Linked DNA regions of Homo sapiens: region 1 is linked to region 2. Evidence: promoter capture Hi-C in 16 types of primary human blood cells and fetal thymus (Javierre and others, 2016). All regions are on one chromosome and are shown on one strand. The core of a region is centred on a gene start or on the middle of the fragment in contact, and the rest is flanking DNA. Distances in the headings are between cores, read along the strand shown. Region 1 overlaps FAM118A (family with sequence similarity 118 member A). Region 2 holds the start of NUP50 (nucleoporin 50).

Evidence for each region. The method cuts DNA at HindIII sites, captures the fragments that hold promoters and counts their contacts. A CHiCAGO score of 5 or more calls a contact.
Region 1: a contact is called between a fragment that was not itself captured here and the fragment with the promoter of NUP50 in region 2, in 1 of 17 cell types (neutrophils). The highest score is 5.8, in neutrophils.

The regions. Positions count from the first base shown.
Region 1 is chr22:45,330,461-45,334,179 of GRCh38, reverse strand. It overlaps FAM118A (family with sequence similarity 118 member A), which reads right to left. Exons shown (of 9, transcript NM_017911.4): 5 at 3,449-3,577; 6 at 1,470-1,755. Among named protein-coding and RNA genes, the nearest start is that of FAM118A, 22 kb to the right of the region's middle. The HindIII fragment of the contact is 3,100 bases long and covers 1-3,015 here.
Region 2 is chr22:45,161,632-45,165,485 of GRCh38, reverse strand. It overlaps NUP50 (nucleoporin 50), which reads right to left and starts at 1,561. Exons shown (of 8, transcript NM_007172.4): 1 at 1,190-1,561. It overlaps NUP50-DT (NUP50 divergent transcript), which reads left to right and starts at 1,705. Exons shown (of 3, transcript NR_038956.1): 1 at 1,705-1,909. RefSeq lists silencers at 790-969, 1,000-1,229, 2,000-2,049 and an enhancer at 1,110-1,632. The HindIII fragment of the contact is 17,324 bases long and covers 1-3,854 here.

The DNA of each region.
Region 1 (3,719 bases), core at 216-2,715, 170 kb before region 2:
ACCCTGGTCATTCCTGATAGATGAGCAATTTCTCAAAAGTGCCAAGGAGCACTACTTAAAAGAGGTGTTGCATTCAGAACAGGGAAAATACATTACGTGAAAAAAGAAGTAAAGTGTTCATGAAATCATTTTGTGCTTGTGAAGTTGTAACTTTTCAACTGCAGTAATAGGACACAGATATGAGATATCTGCGTCTTTCAAGTGTTAAGTATCACAACTGATAAAGCTAGCCTGGTAGTTTTCCTTCTTGGTTAAGGAAACCTGAAACAGGAATAAATGTGTCCAGCTATACATGTGTGCACAGCTGTAAACTTCAAAGTTACTGTATTTTTTATTTTTAGAGACAGGGTCTTCCTCCGACGTCCAGACTGGAATAAGTGGCCTGATCACAGCTTACTGCAGTCTCTAACTCCTGGGCTCAAGCAATCCCCCCACCTGAGCCTCCAGAGTAGCTGGTATCACAGATGTCCACCACCAAACCCAGCTCTTTTTTTTTTTTTTTTTTGGAAACAGAGTCTTGCTCTGTCACCCAGGCTGGAGTGCAGTGGTGCGATCTTGGCTCACTGCAAGCTCTGCCTCCCGGGTTCATGCCATTCTCCTGCCTCAGCCTCCTGAGTAGCTGGGACTACAGGTGCCCGCCACCATGCCCAGCTAATTTTTTGTATTTTTAGTAGAGACGGGGTTTCACCGTGTTAGCCAGGATGGTCTCGATCTCCTGACCTCGTGATCCACCCACCTCAGCCTCCCAAAGTGCTGGGATTACAGGCGTGAGCTATCGCGCCCGCTCCAAACCCAGCTAATTTTTAAAAACATTTTTGTAGAGACCAGGTCTCCCTATGTTGCCCAGGTTGGTCTTAAACTCCTGGGCTCAAGCAATCCTCCTGCCTTGGCCTCCCAAAAAACTGGGATGACAGGCGTGAGCCACGGTGCCCAGCCTGAAGTTACTTTAAAGTTCTAGTTACAGACTGTCACTAGGACACCAATTACTCCAATCTTCTAATTTTAAATTACAGAGGCAGTTTTAAAAAATAATAACGAAGACTGGTGAATTTTAGGGGTATGTGGGTTCCATCAAAAAAAGACAGAGAGAAACAACTGGAAGAGCCCTGTGAGTTTTGTACTTGAAAAGTGAAGACAGGCCGGGCGCGGTGGCTCTCGCCTGTAATCCCAGCACTTCAGGAGGCCAAGGCAGGTGGGTCACCTGAGGTCAGGAGTTCGAGACCAGCCTGACCAACATGGTGAAACCCTATCTCTACTAAAAATACAAAATTAGCCAGGCATGGTGGCGCATGCCTGTAATGCCAGCTACTCGGAAGGCTGAGGCAGAATCCCTTGAACCTAGGAGGCGGAGGTTGTGGTGAGCCAAGATGGTGCCATTGCACTCCAGCCTGGGCAACAAGAGCAAAACTCCGTCTCAAAAAAAAAAAAGAAAAAAGAAAGAAAAAGGAAAGTGAAGCCAGATCCCATACCTGGGCTTTGCTGTTTGCAGATCTGAGTGGCAAGGTCTTGCACATATCCTGGAAAGTGGTCAAAACAGTCCCCGTAGGATACAACTTTGATTCCGTGCAGAAGCATATCTGCCTGATGCTTAAAGAAATGGTCTTCATTCTCCTTCAGCACAAGCATGTAGTGCTCCAAATCCACCTTATTCGGCACGGAGTAAAGAAAGAGGGCCTGGAATATCTGATCACGAAGGGTCTCCCCACAGCCCACAAACAGAAAGGACTTGGTGCGGTATAAGTTCTGGAGGACTTCCTAGAAAAGGCCAATGAAGAAATTGAGTGCTCATTTGAAAGACAGCAAGAGCTTACAACTAACCAAGTCACATGTGTGTGCTTTTACATCACTGCTCCCTGACAGGCGTTCCCAGGGCCACGCTGAGGAGCACAGTTAGAAGGACAGTATCCTTCCCGACATGGCACTCAGGCCACCCCCCAGCAGCAGCCTGTGGCAGCAAAGACCAAAGCTGGGCTGAGCCTGCCTGTCCCCAGCTAAGCCAGGGTAGCTGGTCTTTGGCCGAGGCGGGTGGCAGTGCCCACACCCCTAACAGCAAGGCCAGCCCATCGCCCACCCCACACACTCACCAGTGCAGTCACCCAACTCAAATCTTCTCAAATTGGGTACGATTTTAAATTATTAAAACACAAAATGAGGACAGTAAATGTTTTCAGTTCAGAATTATGCACATAAAACACCCTGAAATTAATGTTGATCTCAGTGGGCCATATGTGGGAATTCTTGCAGGGGTGGTTTTGCGAATGAGGGCAAGAGAGCTGAGGAGGGGATCAGTGACCATGACTGACGGGGTCGGGTGGGCACAGGGAAAGCAGATTGCATGGGGTCACTCAGGCAGGCAGGAGGGAATCGCCAATGCAGCTAACCAAATATCTCAGAGAGGCTCAGTCTCAGCCCAGGTATTTCTTATCACCAAGCAGTATTAATGATGCAACTGAAAAGCATCTGCCCAGTCACTCATCTGCTGACACCTGTCACGGAATGACACCGGCCCAGGGATGAGCACTGAGGAACAGGGCGCCTAGCTGTGTGCTTGAGGGTAAATCCACAGACACCGAGTTTCTCAGTGCTTACCAGAAGCACAGCTTTTCCACACTGCATTCTAGGGCATCAGGAAGACCTCACAGCCGGGAGTAGGGGCACACACCTGCAGTCCCAGCTACTCGGGAGACTAAGGCAGGAGGATCCTTGGGCCCAGGAGTTCAAGGAAGCAGTGAGCTTTGATCATGCCACTGCACTTCAGCCTGGGCCACAGAGCAAGACCCTGTCTATTTAAGAAGAAGAAAAATAAAACCTCACAGAGAATGAAGTGTTATTTACTTTTATTTATTTATTTTTTTAGAAATGAGGTATCGCTCTGTTGCCCAGGCTGGAGTGCAGTGGTGCGATCCCAGTTCACCATAGCCTCTCCCTCCTGGACTCAAGCAATCCTCCTGCCTTGGCCTGCCAAAGCACTGAGATTACAGGCATGAGCCACTATACCAGGCCAAAAATGAAGCTTTACAACTACAGGAAGGAGAGCAGAGAATTTCAGACCAGAAGAAGCCTGGAAGAACAAGGACAACATTCTAGACTGCACGGGGCCTATATGTCATGCTGAGGAGTTTCACTATATACCTGGGCAGGTGAGAACCACCAAATGGCCAGGGCTCCTAGAGAGGGTACAGGCAGATCTCTGCTTTGAAAGGAATCATGAATTCCTTCCTCCAACAAATGTTCGCCAAGCATCTACTCAACATGGAGGCACCATGCGGGACCCCAGAGACACAGACGAGGACAAGAGACGTGGCCCCTCCCTCAGCAACTGTGTGCAGGGCCGACCTGAAGGGCACGGACGCCTGGAGCCTGGGAAGCCACTCAACTGCAGCCAATGGCCAGTGGCCACCAGTAATCCCTGAGAGGACGCACCGATGCTAATTAGGACGGGCCGTACCATGACTTCTGCGTCTTGAGTGACGTCTTTATACCCCGATGGGTCCAGCACCACCCCGCAGGGGTCCGTGTAGAGGCCGTGAATGTGGAGGACGCCGTACTTCATGTGCCCTCTTGCCCATTCAAGGACCTACCAAACATCAAGCCAAGAAAAAGAAACACATCCTCAAACTGTTTCAAACAGAGAGAAGAAAATACTGAAAATGGATTCATAGTTTTTAAACCTATCTTGGAAAGAATCATCGAGAGATGCTTCACTTTACACTTATACC
Region 2 (3,854 bases), core at 312-2,811:
TCTCTTGAAGCCAGGAGTTGGAAACCAACTTGGTCTCTACGAAAATAAAGATGGACATAGATTAGATGAATAGAAATAAAAAATTAGCCGAGCGTAGTGGCGCACGCCTGTGGTCCCAGCTACTTGGAAAGCTGAGGCAGGAGAATCACTTGAGCCCAGGAGCTTCAGGCTACACAGTGAGCTACCACTACACTGAGGCCTGGTGACAAAGCAAGACCCAGTCTCAATCAAACAATCAATAAAAGGGAATTTAAAAAACGTTTGCGTTTGTGGGTAAAAAACCAAATTAGACATGATTTCTAGGTATGAAGCAACGTGGTGGGAGACTGAAAGTCTAGGTAAACTGGAAAAAAACATTATTTGTGCCTGATATAGTTATGTGGTCTCTGGCATCTGGTGTAGCTCTGCCCTTGGAAAGCTCAACTTGTCAACATCACCTTAAAACGAAAACACAGATTTGGCTACACTTAATAGTGAAGTGCCTTGTTGGAGGAAAACAACAAGGGGGCCAAGTAAGGAGACAGAAATACCTAATCTCCAAGCTGGTTCTTAATGGAACCGAGCAAATGGGTGATGAATAACCCGGGAACGCAGTAAGACAGGCCAGAGAGGTAATGCGCCCAAGAGAAGAGAGACGAGGGGCGGCCAGGGGGAGAGGAAGCTCGAGAGGAATCGCTAGGAAGGAAACGGAGAAGACCACGCCAGGACAGCCCTGCCAGCCCCCTACCTCCGGCGGGGCCGCAGGGGAGAGTCTCACTCGAGTCGGACGCCGCAGCCCGGTGGGGCCCGGGCCCCGCTTCAAAAACAGCCGGGGCTGCGTCGCCGCTGTCATCCCACCCCACCCTCCACCCGTCGCTCCCCCACCGCGCGCCCCGCCCGGCCCGTGCGCCCGACCCAGGCTCCCTCCCTAGAGTCCCGACCTCTAGCCCTGTACCCCACTTCCCAGGGTCCCGTCCTCCAGCCCCTTAAGCCCCTCCCCAGGGTCTGGTCCCCCGGCCCCGCACCCCTCCCCAGGGGCCCGTCCCCCGGCGCTGAACCCGCACCTCCCTCCCCAGGGTCCAGTCCCCAGCCCTGCACTCGCACTCCCCTCCCAGGCCCGAGCCCGCTCCCGCCCTCCCGGCCCTGGGCTCTCAGCACCAGGCTCCCGCCCTCAGCCTCTTCTCCTCCCGCGCCCGCCGCCGCTCCTCACCTCCTCGGCGGCCGCCGCTGCACTCGCTGGGTCTTGGTTGCGGCGAAACCCGGGGCGCAGCGGCGCAGGGGTCTGGAGCCCGCAGGGGTCGCCGGGCTGAGCGCGCTCGGCCGCTTCCGGTGCTGCGCTGCGGAACTCAGAGGACTTAGTGCTCGGCAAGCCCAGAGACTCAAACACCATATCCCTGGGGGGGCTCCTCACGCTGTGTTCGGCAGGGAGGCGAGAGCGCCGGTTCAGCCAGAGACAGCTGGGGGAACCGCGCCGAACACGCTCCGGGCGGCCATTTTGTAACTCGAATCTACCCCCAAAACCAATTCGAAAAAAAGGGAGGAAAGAAACGCCCGCGTTCAGCTACTGCGCAAGCGCGCCGGCGCTTCCGGCAGTAGCACCTCCTTCCGCCGGCCGGGCCCCTTACGCGGCGCATGCGCCCAGCTCCCTGGAAACCGGCGCGGGGCTGAGAATGCCGGTCTCGCGCAAGCGCGCACGCGCCGACCTTGATCTCGTAGCCGGCGCCAGCAGCCGCGCTTTGGGGCGTCGGCTCACGTGGGGCCGGCAACGCGTCTTCCAGGATGTTCGCGCGCTAGTCGCCGCTGAGGGGCCGGCGATGCGCGAGGAGTTCCGGCGAGGAAGGTCGGTCAGTGGACATGGCCGAGGCCCGCGGTGTCCGCGTGTGGGAGCTGCAGGGCTGAGGAGAGGCCGCCCGCAACCCTCGGGAATCGTGTGAGGTGCCACTGGGGTCGCTTCACATCAGGAGGCCCCGTCTCGGGGGACGCGCGCAGGTGACCCTGCTGGTCGTACCTGGCCGGGGTGGCCCGGAGGGGCTGGGTCTCGGCGCCAGGAGGGGCCGTGTGGGCCGCCTGTTAAAGGACCCCTCGTTCGCTGACATTTGATTTTGCATTGGGTGCCTTCTCTTCTGTTTTTTTCAGCCAGTGAGATCCGTCCTGGGCACTCAGCTGTAGAGCAGGGGAACGAGTCCTGCGCTTTTTGCGCTGAGGTCTCCTGGCCCGTAGGCCAGGCAGCCTCTGAGCTCCTTTCTCACCAGCAGCTTGCGATCCCTCATCCCTGGCCCTGTCACTCCCAGCTGTTTCCAGTGCCGCCCTTTTTTTTTTTTTTTTTTTGAGATGGAGAGTTTAACTTGTTCGCCCAGGCTGGAGTGAAGTGGCACGATCTTGGCCTACTGCAACCTCTGCCTCCCGGATTCAAGCGATTCTCCTGCCTCAGCCTCCCGAGTAGTTGGGATTACAGTCGTGCGCCACCACGCCCGGCTAATGTTTATATTTTTAGTAGAGACGGGTTTTCACCATATTGGTCAGGCTGGTCTCGAACTCGTGACCTCAGGTGATTCCCTCCCCCCGCCCCACCACCTCAGCCTCCCAAAGTGCTGGGATTACAGGCCTGAGCCACCGTTCCCGGCCTCGAGCGCCTTCTTATAAACTGGATGGTGGTTTTTGTTTTCACCTTCAAAGTCGAATCTCCCTAGTCCGTTTATTACCAGAAAGAGGTCTCCACTCAGACCCAGCGAGAGGCTTCTTGGATGTCGCGTAGGAAAGAATTCGGGGCGAGTCCACGGACTAAAGTGAAAGCAAGTGTATTAGAGAAGTGAGAAAGCAAAAGAATGGCAGAGCAGGGCATTCCTGAAAGCGGGAGGAGGAAGGCGCCCGCCTTAGGTACAGTGCTTGTTCAAATCTAAGGTAACACAGCCAAAGAAATCTTGGGGGACATGGGCTCTACCACGAGGGCCCACGACCAAGGTTTCATGCGCGTCCGTGTGAAGAGACCACCAAACAGGATTTGTGTGAGCAACATGGCTGTTTATTTCACCTGGGTGCAGGCGGGCTGAGTCCAAAAAGACAGTCAGCGAAGGGAGATAGGGGTGGGGCCGTTTTATAGGATTTGGGAAGGTAATGGAAAATTACAGTCAAAGGGGGTTGTTCTCTGGTGGGCAGGGGTGGGGGGTCACAAGGTGCTCAGTGGGGGAGCTTCTGAGCCAGGAGAAGGAAATTCACAGGGTTAATCACTTAGTTAAGGTTGGGCAGGAACAAATCACGATGGTGGAATGTCATCAGTTAAGGTGGGGCAGGGCCTTTTCACTTCTTTTGTGATTCTTCAGTTACTTCAGGCCATCTGGGCGTATACGTACAAGTCACAGGGGATGCGATGGCTTGGCTTGGGCTCAGAGGCCTGACACAAGGATTGTTCATCTTTGTTTACTGACTTTGGCAAAGATCTATATTATCTTTAAAGCGAAACCTAAATGAAGAATGCTTTTGATCTTAAGATATTGTTAGGTTTTGAAGGGAAGACGAGAGTTAAAGAATGACACACAGGTCGGGCGCTGTGGCTCACGCCTGTAATCCCAGCACTTTGGGAGGCCGAGGCGGGTGCATCACCTGAGGTCAGGAGTGGGAGACCAGCCCGACCAACATGGTGAAACCTCATCTCTACTAAAAATACAAAAATTAGCGGGGCGTGGTGGCACATGCCTGTAATCTCAGCTACTTGGGAGGCTGAAGCAGGAGAATCACTTGAACCCGCGAGGCAGAGGTTGCAGCGAGCCAAAATCACGCCATTGCACTCCAGGCTGGGTAATACAGTGAGACTGCGTCTCAAAAAAAAAAAAAAAAAAAAAAAAAAACAAAGGGCAGCTCAACAGCAACACAGGTAT